Linked DNA regions of Homo sapiens: regions 1 and 2 are each linked to region 3. The links are contacts of gene promoters, found by promoter capture Hi-C in blood cells and fetal thymus (Javierre and others, 2016). All regions are on one chromosome and are shown on one strand. The core of a region is centred on a gene start or on the middle of the fragment in contact, and the rest is flanking DNA. Distances in the headings are between cores, read along the strand shown.

Region 1 (2,907 bases), core at 54-2,553, 430 kb after region 3:
ACTGCTCAGGGCTTCTTCCTGTGTGCCATTCAGACCTACAGCCACTGAGTGAAACCCTTCTCTTGCTTTTGTACTGCTTTGGAGGCAGCTGCCTCCCCACAGATGAACAGTGTGACCTCGCAGGCCACTCGGCACTGTGAGCTCCTGTGCTGCTGTCCCAGCCAGAATCCTGTCCTTGAAAGGAGGGCTCCCTGTGCCTCCTGTCAGGTGATGGGAGGCTCTGTCCCTGGCCAGAGTCCCCGTGGGGATGGAGACCTACAAAACTCAAATGCCCTTTGTAGTTACTCCCTCTTCTTCTGTTCTTGCTCAGTGGCTTTTATTTGGTTCCCTTTGAGTTCCCAGCCCCTATTTCTCTTCAGAGGTTACTGATGAGCCAAGCCTCAGAACATATCAGAAGCAGCCAGAGGCTGTCTCCTGGTGAGGCTGCAATGCATTTCACCAAGCAGACATCACCTTGGGCAGCAGGCCCATTTGGTTGTCATGACAACGTGGGTAGTTTGTGTCGTGGAGTGTGCTGTGCCCTCATTCTGGCTTCCCAAGGTCCCTTGCCCCAGCTTTCTTTCCCAGACCCTTTCAACAGACTCCCGGCTTCCTGGCGCCACCTCCACATTAACTGTTGTTCAATTTGGAGTAGCTTTGTCTTGATCAGCAAAAAAAAAAAAAATGCTCAACTTAGCTTTCAAAGGAATAGATCGAGCCCATTCCTCTCCTCAAAATACTCCCATCTCTCTCAAAGCCAGTGTCCTTACCATGGCTCCCAAGATCCTCCAGGGTCTGGCCTCAGTTTCTTCACTGACTTCAGCTCCCACCACGATTTCCCTTCCCAACCGCTCCTGGCCTTCTCATTGTTGTTAGATGCAGCAAGCAGGCTCACACCTCAGGCCTTTTGCACTTACTGTTGCACATTCTGTGCCCCGATTTCTGCATGCCTGTTCCCTTCCTCCATTCAGGTCACTGCTCAAATGTCCCCCCACTTAGAGGCCCTCACCCACCCTACCTAGCATGGCAGTCTTCCACCCTGTCATCCTGTCTTTTTACCCAGCTTTGTCTTTCCTCATAGCACCTTCCGATCCCCAGCATGATGTTGCAGACTCAATTGTTTGTGGTTTTAGTGTCTGTCTTCCCCACTGGAATCCCCCTAGAACAGGGGCAGGCACATAGTCAATGCTCGATAAACATTTGTTAAATAAGCGGATGAGTGACTAGACTTGGATCCAAAGCCTGGCGCTGCTATTTGGTAGCTTTGTGGCATCGCACAAGCCACCCAGTCACCCTAAGCCTTGGTCTTCCTGATTGTGAAGCAGAGGTGATCATGTCTGCCAGCTGAGGTGGTGAGAATGAAAGTGGTGTTGCGCAGGGAATGGGCTCAAGCGACTCCCCAGATGGCGTTGATGTTATCATTCTGTGCTTGTGTCAGCTGCATTCAGAATGTGCTCCTTGCCTAAGGCTCCCGAGCACCCCACACACTTCCAGGGCACCTGAGACTCTGTGACCTGCCAGGGAACCTGCAAGATGCCCAAGGAAAAGACAACCAGTCATGGGCTGAGGCAAGAGCCTGCCTCCTACAGAGGGGCTCTGCGTTCACATGGGGTGACCGCAGCCTTTAAATGGAAAAGCAGGCCGCCCTGGCCGTCCCCCCTACCTTCTGCTGTCTGTTCACCAAGGCCTGGAGACTGCCTCTTCTGGCCGGGTGAGATGGCCCTGTGTGAGTCCAGCAGCCCTTCCTCCGCCCGCCTCCAGCAGTCTCTCACGTACTGGGCTTGCAGCAGGACGTCTAGCCAGTCACCGCAGAGTGGGGCTTCACTGAATTTCTTGGGGGTGTCCTTGGGGTGGGGACAAAAGTGTTAAAAGGAGGAAGGAAATTCACAGTGTTACTTTTTTAGCAGGCTGGAAGATACCTGGGCCCATTTCTGAAACTTTTTAAAAAGGAATTGTTTGTCCATTGAAAGTCCTACCATTGTCGGTTTCATATTAAGATACTTCCTTCAGTTTATCATGTCTGATGACTTTCAAAGAAGGCAAGGCCAGCAAACATGCGAGGCACTGAGTCACCCTCATGGAGTGACTCATGGAGTCTGAACACAGCACTGGGGGAAGACACTAAGAGCAGGAGGACCCCAATCTCTGCCCTTGAGGGCTTCCTGTGCCTGAGACTTGGGGGGCTGTGGGTGATGTGGACAGGCGGGCTGCCTCATCTGAGCCAATAAATTGCACCAACACAGATGACAGTGTGGACTTCAGGTGGGATGTTGATGGTATCTGCATGTCCTGTGTTTAGATAATGAAATAAGACACTTGCTCTGCCTGTCGATTTAAAGTTGGCAATTGACATAAGGAAAAGGGGGGTCAATGGCACCTGGAAGATGACAGACAGAATCGTGATCCAGTTAGCATAGTTATCAGTAAGCTAATGACACAAAAGACACAGGTAACAAATGGGTAAGGGAGTCAAAGGGGAAGAATAATGGCGTGACAGAATAAGGACCTCTCAGCAGACTAGGCTGCCAATAAATGTGAAGTGTTGCCTTTGGGATCAAAAGGACAATCACACTGAAACAGGACGCATTTTAACAATCACTTATTTTTAAAAAATGCAAGTTTTAAAACTGACCACAAGCTTAATAGGGGCCAACCACGACAGAGCTGCTAAAAATCATAAGCAGTGTTGGGGAGGCTGTCTGGTAGAAACATTTAGCTCCTTGGAATCAGAAAAAAACAAATGGGTTCACATCCCAGCTCTGCTATTTAGTAGCTATGTAACCTTGAGTTATCCATGGCCCTCTCTGAGACCAAGAATCTAGCTGAAAGAAGATGGCAATGCCATCCTTGAAGGGTTATTTTGAGAATTAGCAATAGGGTACATGGAGGACCTAGCCCAGTGCCTAGTAGAATTTGGCAGAACTTAGA
Region 2 (3,370 bases), core at 37-2,536, 400 kb after region 3:
ACTGACTTTCCTAGGTTAGGATAGAGCCTTCTACGAGTGTGTATATTCCACAGCACTTAGAACATAGTGCTTAACCGATAGTAGATGAGAGATAAGTATTTATTGTTTGATAGCAACATAAACATGTTGAATGAGGCACAGCATCCCAGAAATTGCAGGAGCAGCAGACAGCCACTCAGGGAGTCGTAAGTGAATAGCTCTCCTCCAGGCCAGCCAAGCAGCGTTCACGTGAATAATCTCAAACTAGCATGCGTGCAAAATAGAGTGTGAAGCTTATGGAAAATGGTTTTATTCAGAAGACTGAATACTGATGTAAAAAAATCAGTTTCACTTCTGCATGATGATAATACTTTCCCTAGAACTACTCAGTAACAGAGAAAACCCATATACCACACAGAGCACCACCTCCACATACCCTGCTCGCGGTCATATTTAAGGTCACCCGTCTCCTCTGGAGCTTTCCCGTGGATTGCTGTAAGCTCTGCTCCCCGCTGCCACCCACAATCCATCAATTAATGTATCAAAAGGGAGAGAAGGTGTTTCTAGCATGTACTGTGGTAAATTACTGAAGGAAAAATTACTAATTATGGACACTCCTGCAGGCAGAGCATTCCTTCCCTCCCCTACCCTTTTGGTTTTCAGCCCCATTCTGGGCTCCCTACTTCCCTCCCAGACTGTCTCCGGCCTCAGGCTGGGAGTTCTCTGTTTCCATTTCATCTCTTTTCCATACCTCTGGATGGGGATGTGTCCAGGAACCCAGGCCAAAACCAGCAAATTTATCACCGTGGTAATGACAGCAAGCTGCATGCTGAGTGAATTCTGCAATCCCCCTCAACTCCTTTTTTTGCCAAAACCCATAAAGCTGCAAGATCCAGCAGGTTACAGAGACTGTTATCTGCACATGAAGAATAGCTCTGTTAGAAATGCAATTAGGTATCAGCCATAAGGCTATTTTTGGAAGCTTGTTTGGGGGAAATAAAAAAAAACTTGCCATGTGGTGGGAGATGTTAGTCAATTCACCAAAACTGAGTATCACTAGCGGCATTGTAAAACAACCTTTATCAATATGTAACATTATAAAGACCCACCTTTTGTTCCCTGGTGGTGCCTCGTTGTTCTGAGAGTGAGTATTTATGCTTGTGGTGGCAAAATCCCCTCTTTATTTACGTGAGCAGCTCCTCCCAAACCAGGGGCAGTGGAGAATCCTTAAACCTGGTCATTCCAAAAAAAAAAAAATACTTCCTTAGGGTTTGGGAAAAAGGAACTTGGTCGTTCCAATAGGCGCTGAAGAAATTGTAACATACCAGGTTGAGCACACCTACTCTGGTCAAGGCATGGGGTTTGGAGGCACAGACTTGAGGAAGCATGTGTCAGGAGGCGCATTGTCAGGGAGGCTTATTACTGGGAAGGCTTATTAGCAGGGAGGTAGTTTCCAGGAAGCAGTGCAAACCAGTGTGTGCTCTAAAGGAGCAAGCCACTGTCCAGGCTCATTAGGAAGGCAGTACCCAGTCATATGAGAGGCTCGTGGTATAAGGCTGTGCCGGATACCCAGGAAACAGGCAGGGCACCAAAGCACCACTGACTCTCCATACTGCAGGATTAAAAAGCTTTTGATGACTCACTCTAAATCAAGAGATGTTTCTAAATGGTGTGTTGCATTTGTCACAGCAATATCTCCTTTTATTTGGAGCATGCATGTGCTATCCCATCTTAAAATTTAATTCAGCAGTGTTTGATGCAGCCTAGAGTCTCAGTCCAGCAGCAGCCTTATGTCCCCAACTTCTTTACTCTGCTTATATGGACAATAAGGGTCAAATTGCACTGAGTAGGGAAAAGATCCATTTGGGGCTGTGGCTGGCTCAGGTGTCAAGTCATTTTCCTGTTGGATCCAGGTTCACCAATACTCATCATTGGGTCAAGTTTCCACTTCCCCAAATCCCCCTCAGCACACTCCTGAAGTTCCCACCCTTCCCCCACATGGAATAAGGGTGCAATTATTGTTTAGTCCCAATGCCTGCCACGCTCTCTATGCATAATTCTCTCCAGTAGGGACACATGGAAACCAAGGCACAGACATGCAGGTGCCCCAGACCCTTTCCCAAGACAATGATGTGTCTGGAGATAGTGGCCTCCGAGGTATTACCTAAGGACTGGTGATGTTTGACCTCCATAAAGGGCAAGTCGAAGTAGAGAAATCAATCATAGCATCCTCAGATATGTGAAGATCCTATGCCAATGACAGAGGATCTTTTTCTGTGCTGATCCAGAAAACAGGCCAGGCACATAGCTGAAGATTATAGGGAAGCAGATGCAACTCCACATAATTAATTCCTTACATATAACTTAATGGAATAGCTCGAATACATACAAGTCAGAAGGGAAATGCCCATTTCCTTCTGTAGAAGGGATTCCTAAATTGACTGCAAAGTTGAACTGAATGACCTCTGCCATCTCTCCCAATTATAACATTCTAGAGGTGCCCTAAAACTCTCCATAAATGATAAAGTCTCTTGTGACTGCTTCCTCATCTACTCATCTTTTGAATACTCAATTCAGCTATAGCCTTGGAGGTATAGAATGTACTTATGTGAGGAAAGAAATATCTTAAACAAGGAAGCAATGAATTTTCCAGGCTTTCTTGGAATCCCCCAGTGGCCTGATCACATCCCCCAAATGGGACATGCCATACAGACAGCACTGACATTTTAACAAGTGTGCTGAGCCCTTGGACATAAACAAACTCCGGGCTGCTGTTTCACCCCTCCTTCATGCACGAAATCATGGAATTTTAGAGACGGAGGAAGCCTGGAGGTCATTGCCTCCCAGATCCTACCCAGGGCAGGAATTCTCACTCTAACAACCCAACAGATGGTCACCCAGCTTCTGCTTGAACCCTTTCAGGAAGGGGCTCACTGCTTTGCCAGAAGATTTAATCCATTTTGAGACAGTCCTCATTGTGAGTTGTTTCTTCCTTGTATTAAGCCCCAAGTCTGCTTTCATTAGACTTGATTTCTGCCCTCAGGAGCAAGATAAAAATAAAGCTGTTTCTAATTCATATGACAATGTTCAGATATTCAAAGACAGCCATTATCTCCATTCCTCCTCTCCAAGTCTTGTCTTCACATCTAAATGTCTCATGTCACCTTAAATATTTCTCAGATGGCATGGTTTCAGACCCCTCACCATTCCAGTCACCATCTTCTGAATATTTTCTATTTTGCAAATGTTCCTTATGAAGAGTAACTCCCAGAACAAATACCAGCTGATGTCTCCTCACTTGTAGAGCAGAGTGGAACTATCACCTCCCTGAAGGGAACTATCACTGTTCTCTGTGCATCATACCTTTATTAATGTAAACTAGAATTATATG
Region 3 (3,289 bases), core at 755-3,254:
CAGGGAGCAAGACAATAATAGCACAGTTGTTTGCATAAAGGAAGAAATGGGGGTTAGATGGAGTTCCCAGCACAGATGAAGAAATAGACCATTTATCCTCCCATGTCTAAGGCCATGGCCATCACCACACAGTCATGTATGTGTAAAAACACATAGGCATGTGCATCTCATGGGGACCAGTCACTCCTGTTTACATGCACCCTTGTTTACATTGCCTATGGGATGATTTCCTCCTCCTTCATTACACTTCAGTTGACAACGTACTCCTGAAGTTAAATGAGTCTGTTTCTGACATTGCTGCCTGCTCCATCTTTTATGGAGCTTCCCTGGGGTTCAATTTATATAATTTCTAAAATCCTTCCTGAATCTTAACTTCCTGTGGGTCTGTTTTTACATCCAGATTTCCTCCCTGTCCCTTCATTTTCTCATTTTTCTAGGACAGAGGGAGAGTCCAGTAATCTTCCTCCCACCCAGACATTGTAGGTTGGCTCTACTGCAAAATACAAAACCAGAGACCTGGCTAGCTCAAAGCTGAAAATTCAGTCTGTCTGTGGTCACTCGTTTGTGGAACCCAGCTATTGACAGGCAGTGCCTGGCACTGTGCTACTCAGGGATGATGGATCGATACAGCCTCACTGCTGCTTTTTTCCCCTACTCTCCGTGGAGCACACTTTCCGCCCTAGGCCCTAGGGAAAATCCATCCCCCGCTTCAGCTGGCTTTGCAAAGAAACTCAGGAAACTAACACCAAACTCAGAAGGGGGAAAACACAAGACTTTGAACTTTTTAAAGATGGGAAGCTGCTTTCATTCCCACGTGGGCATCAAGGGAAAACCTATGGGGACTCTTTTCCGGAGAGGTGTGATTTTCCTCTAACCCTCCGAGAAACGTTCCAAATCCACTCCAAAACTGTGGAGAAGTGGCCGAGGCAGAGAGAGAAGAGTTAAATCAAGCCCAGATCTCAGCAATCTGTGTTCAATTTTGATAAAAATCTCCCTCTCCCCCACCGCCCCCCTTCCTCCACCCCACAGCTCAGACACGTCTCTTTATGTTAGGAGCTTGCATCTTGTTTGGGGCACCACACGCGGCACTCCTGGAGAACCTGGCACGTACCTCACCGTGGCCATGTGGCAGAACCAACCATCCCACTCCCAAGCTACGGCTGGACACAGGGCCACAGCGTCCTGGCCATCACCACCACCTCCCCCTCTTCCTTCTCATCCTCTTCACAAAATTACCTGCCGCCAGACCAAGTCCCTCATTCCCCGGTTAAGTCAGAGTCCCGACGCCTGGTAAAGTCAGGGCATGAGGTTGGTTTGCGACCGCAGGTGCTGAGAGCCCCAGAGTCCGGGGACCCCTTTCCTGAGATGCTCCTTCCCCCGCCCAGGGTCCCACTGCCACTGAGAACAAGAACCTTACGGCTGCCCTGCCCACTGGCCAGAGGCCAGGCCTGCAAGTGGGAGCTGGGGGCTTGTGAAGACTTCAGCCCAGCCAAGTGAAGGTTCAAGCCGAACCCGGAAAAGCCACCACCAAAAAGTTGTCAGTTTTGCGGGGTATCTTCTGTGTTTGTCCACTTGTGACAACCAGGGGTCAGGTTTCAAAGCCGCAAAAAACATTTTTAAAAAGTTTTCCAAAGACATTTCCTATGTCCAGATGTGCCAGTACAGACACACGCAATCACACTCATACACACACACAACTCACACACACACAGGCCCTGGGAGCCCACTCCGGGGTCGGCGGCTCCTGCAAACACTTTGGAGAAACAAAACCGCCAGCCTGCGGAGCTGCTGCCTCCCCAAGCCCCGCGGGGCATGCTAAAGAAAGCAGAGGGAGAGAAGTGTGGGAGCCCAGCGGAGAGGGCTCCCCGCGGCCCGGGCCCCAAGACGGGGAGCGCCAGGGCCGGCCGCACTTACTCCGAGGACCCCAGGGCGCCCGCGCTCCCGCAGCCCGAGGTACGGCGCCGCCGCCCGCGCTCCGCTCGCTGCTGCGTGCTCCGCGCTATCCCCGGGAAGCCGCGGCTGCCGCCCCTCCAGGCCCGGCCTCGCGCCCGTCCGCCCGCCCCGCTCTGACGTCAGGCGTCTTGGAGCGGGATATTTATGGCAAGGTTACTCTGAATTTTCCCTAGGTAGACTTCTGATTGCAGTTTCTTGGGATTTGTAATTTTCACACTTTCAGACCGAACGCAGGCGGGGGGAGAGCGCCACCGGCAGGGCGAGGCGTACAATGAGGGTAGCTGTTCCCCACTTTGGCAGGGAGCGTTCTCAGGGCCCCTTCTGTTTTGGAAACATGGAAGGGTCAAAGAGGCAAAAGTGGCCACCTGGGCAGCGGGTTTCTCCCCGGCTCCTCCTCTGGGCTACGGGCAAATGGCCTGGTCTGAGGCCGGCTCGGAGGTGAAGGTCCCGGTGCCAAGGAATCCCCTGTCCCTCCCCAAAGTGTCCCTGCACTGGACAGTGTGTCCCAAGGGGTGCTGGGCAAGACAGGAGCGAAATCAGGCACAACAGAACAGCTAATTAGGAGTCCTGGTCCACGCCCTAACAACTTTTCCATTTCTTTTTTGGGAGTGTATATATATTTTTTTAAGTTTATTTTTATTAAATTATGTTCCACACTCCCTGCCTCTGTATAGCTTTTCCAATTCAGTGCCAGTCAATTCATCTTACTTCATTGCTTGTATGCATAGTTTGAGCAGTTTACAATAGCTCTTATTCATACTTTTAAAATTTCCTTTTAGTTTTTTTTTTTCTTTTTTTTTTAAATGTGATTGTGGTCTGTCTCCTTGACTGAACTAGAGATTGCTTTGGTCAAGAGCAATTGTCCTCTCTGGGATTGGCAACACCCTCACGGGGAGTATTTGATCTTCTCTGTTTCCTATTTTCCCCAGCTCCCTCTGCAAGCAAATGGTGCCCCCACTGGGTGATGACCTGTATACAGTTTTCTGGGTGTTCAGTGGTTGTTCTGTGTTAGTGGTTGTCTGTTTCTCCACCTCACCAAAGGGGCTTAGGGAAATGGCTTGGTTTAAGGGCCACCCTTCCAGAGAAAAAAAGAGAATGTAATGCATGATCTTCCAGAGGAAAAAAAAAAAAAAAAGAGAATGTAATGTGTTATCCTTCATGGTTCCCAAGGATTGGAGAATGAAATGAACTTAAAATGATACACGTGAGATGCAAAATACTTATATGGTTAGACAACATAAGTGTTTAGGTATTCATCTCACCATGAATGGGAGGGGGCACGGATAATTGCAAATCATCATTAAAACACAACTATAGTGAACTTTCCATTAGCCCA

The links. The method cuts DNA at HindIII sites, captures the fragments that hold promoters and counts their contacts. A CHiCAGO score of 5 or more calls a contact.
Region 1: a fragment that was not itself captured here is called in contact with the fragment with the promoter of DAAM2 in region 3 in 1 of 17 cell types (endothelial precursors); the score reaches 5.8 in endothelial precursors.
Region 2: a fragment that was not itself captured here is called in contact with the fragment with the promoter of DAAM2 in region 3 in 1 of 17 cell types (endothelial precursors); the score reaches 5.0 in endothelial precursors.

Annotation. Positions count from the first base shown.
Region 1 is chr6:39,364,650-39,367,556 of GRCh38, reverse strand. The region is part of intron 16 of KIF6 (kinesin family member 6); the gene reads left to right. It overlaps LOC107986594 (a long non-coding RNA gene), which reads right to left. Exons shown (of 4, transcript XR_001744111.2): 3 at 1,643-1,823. Among named protein-coding and RNA genes, the nearest start is that of KCNK16, 43 kb to the right of the region's middle. The HindIII fragment of the contact is 2,633 bases long and covers 1-2,619 here.
Region 2 is chr6:39,386,151-39,389,520 of GRCh38, reverse strand. All of the region lies in intron 15 of KIF6 (kinesin family member 6), which reads left to right. It overlaps LOC107986594 (a long non-coding RNA gene), which reads right to left. Exons shown (of 4, transcript XR_001744111.2): 4 at 81-1,212. Among named protein-coding and RNA genes, the nearest start is that of KCNK16, 65 kb to the right of the region's middle. The HindIII fragment of the contact is 646 bases long and covers 964-1,609 here.
Region 3 is chr6:39,791,091-39,794,379 of GRCh38, reverse strand. DAAM2 (dishevelled associated activator of morphogenesis 2) reads right to left here and starts at 2,004. Exons shown (of 25, transcript NM_001201427.2): 1 at 1,915-2,004. The HindIII fragment of the contact is 9,754 bases long and covers 1-3,289 here.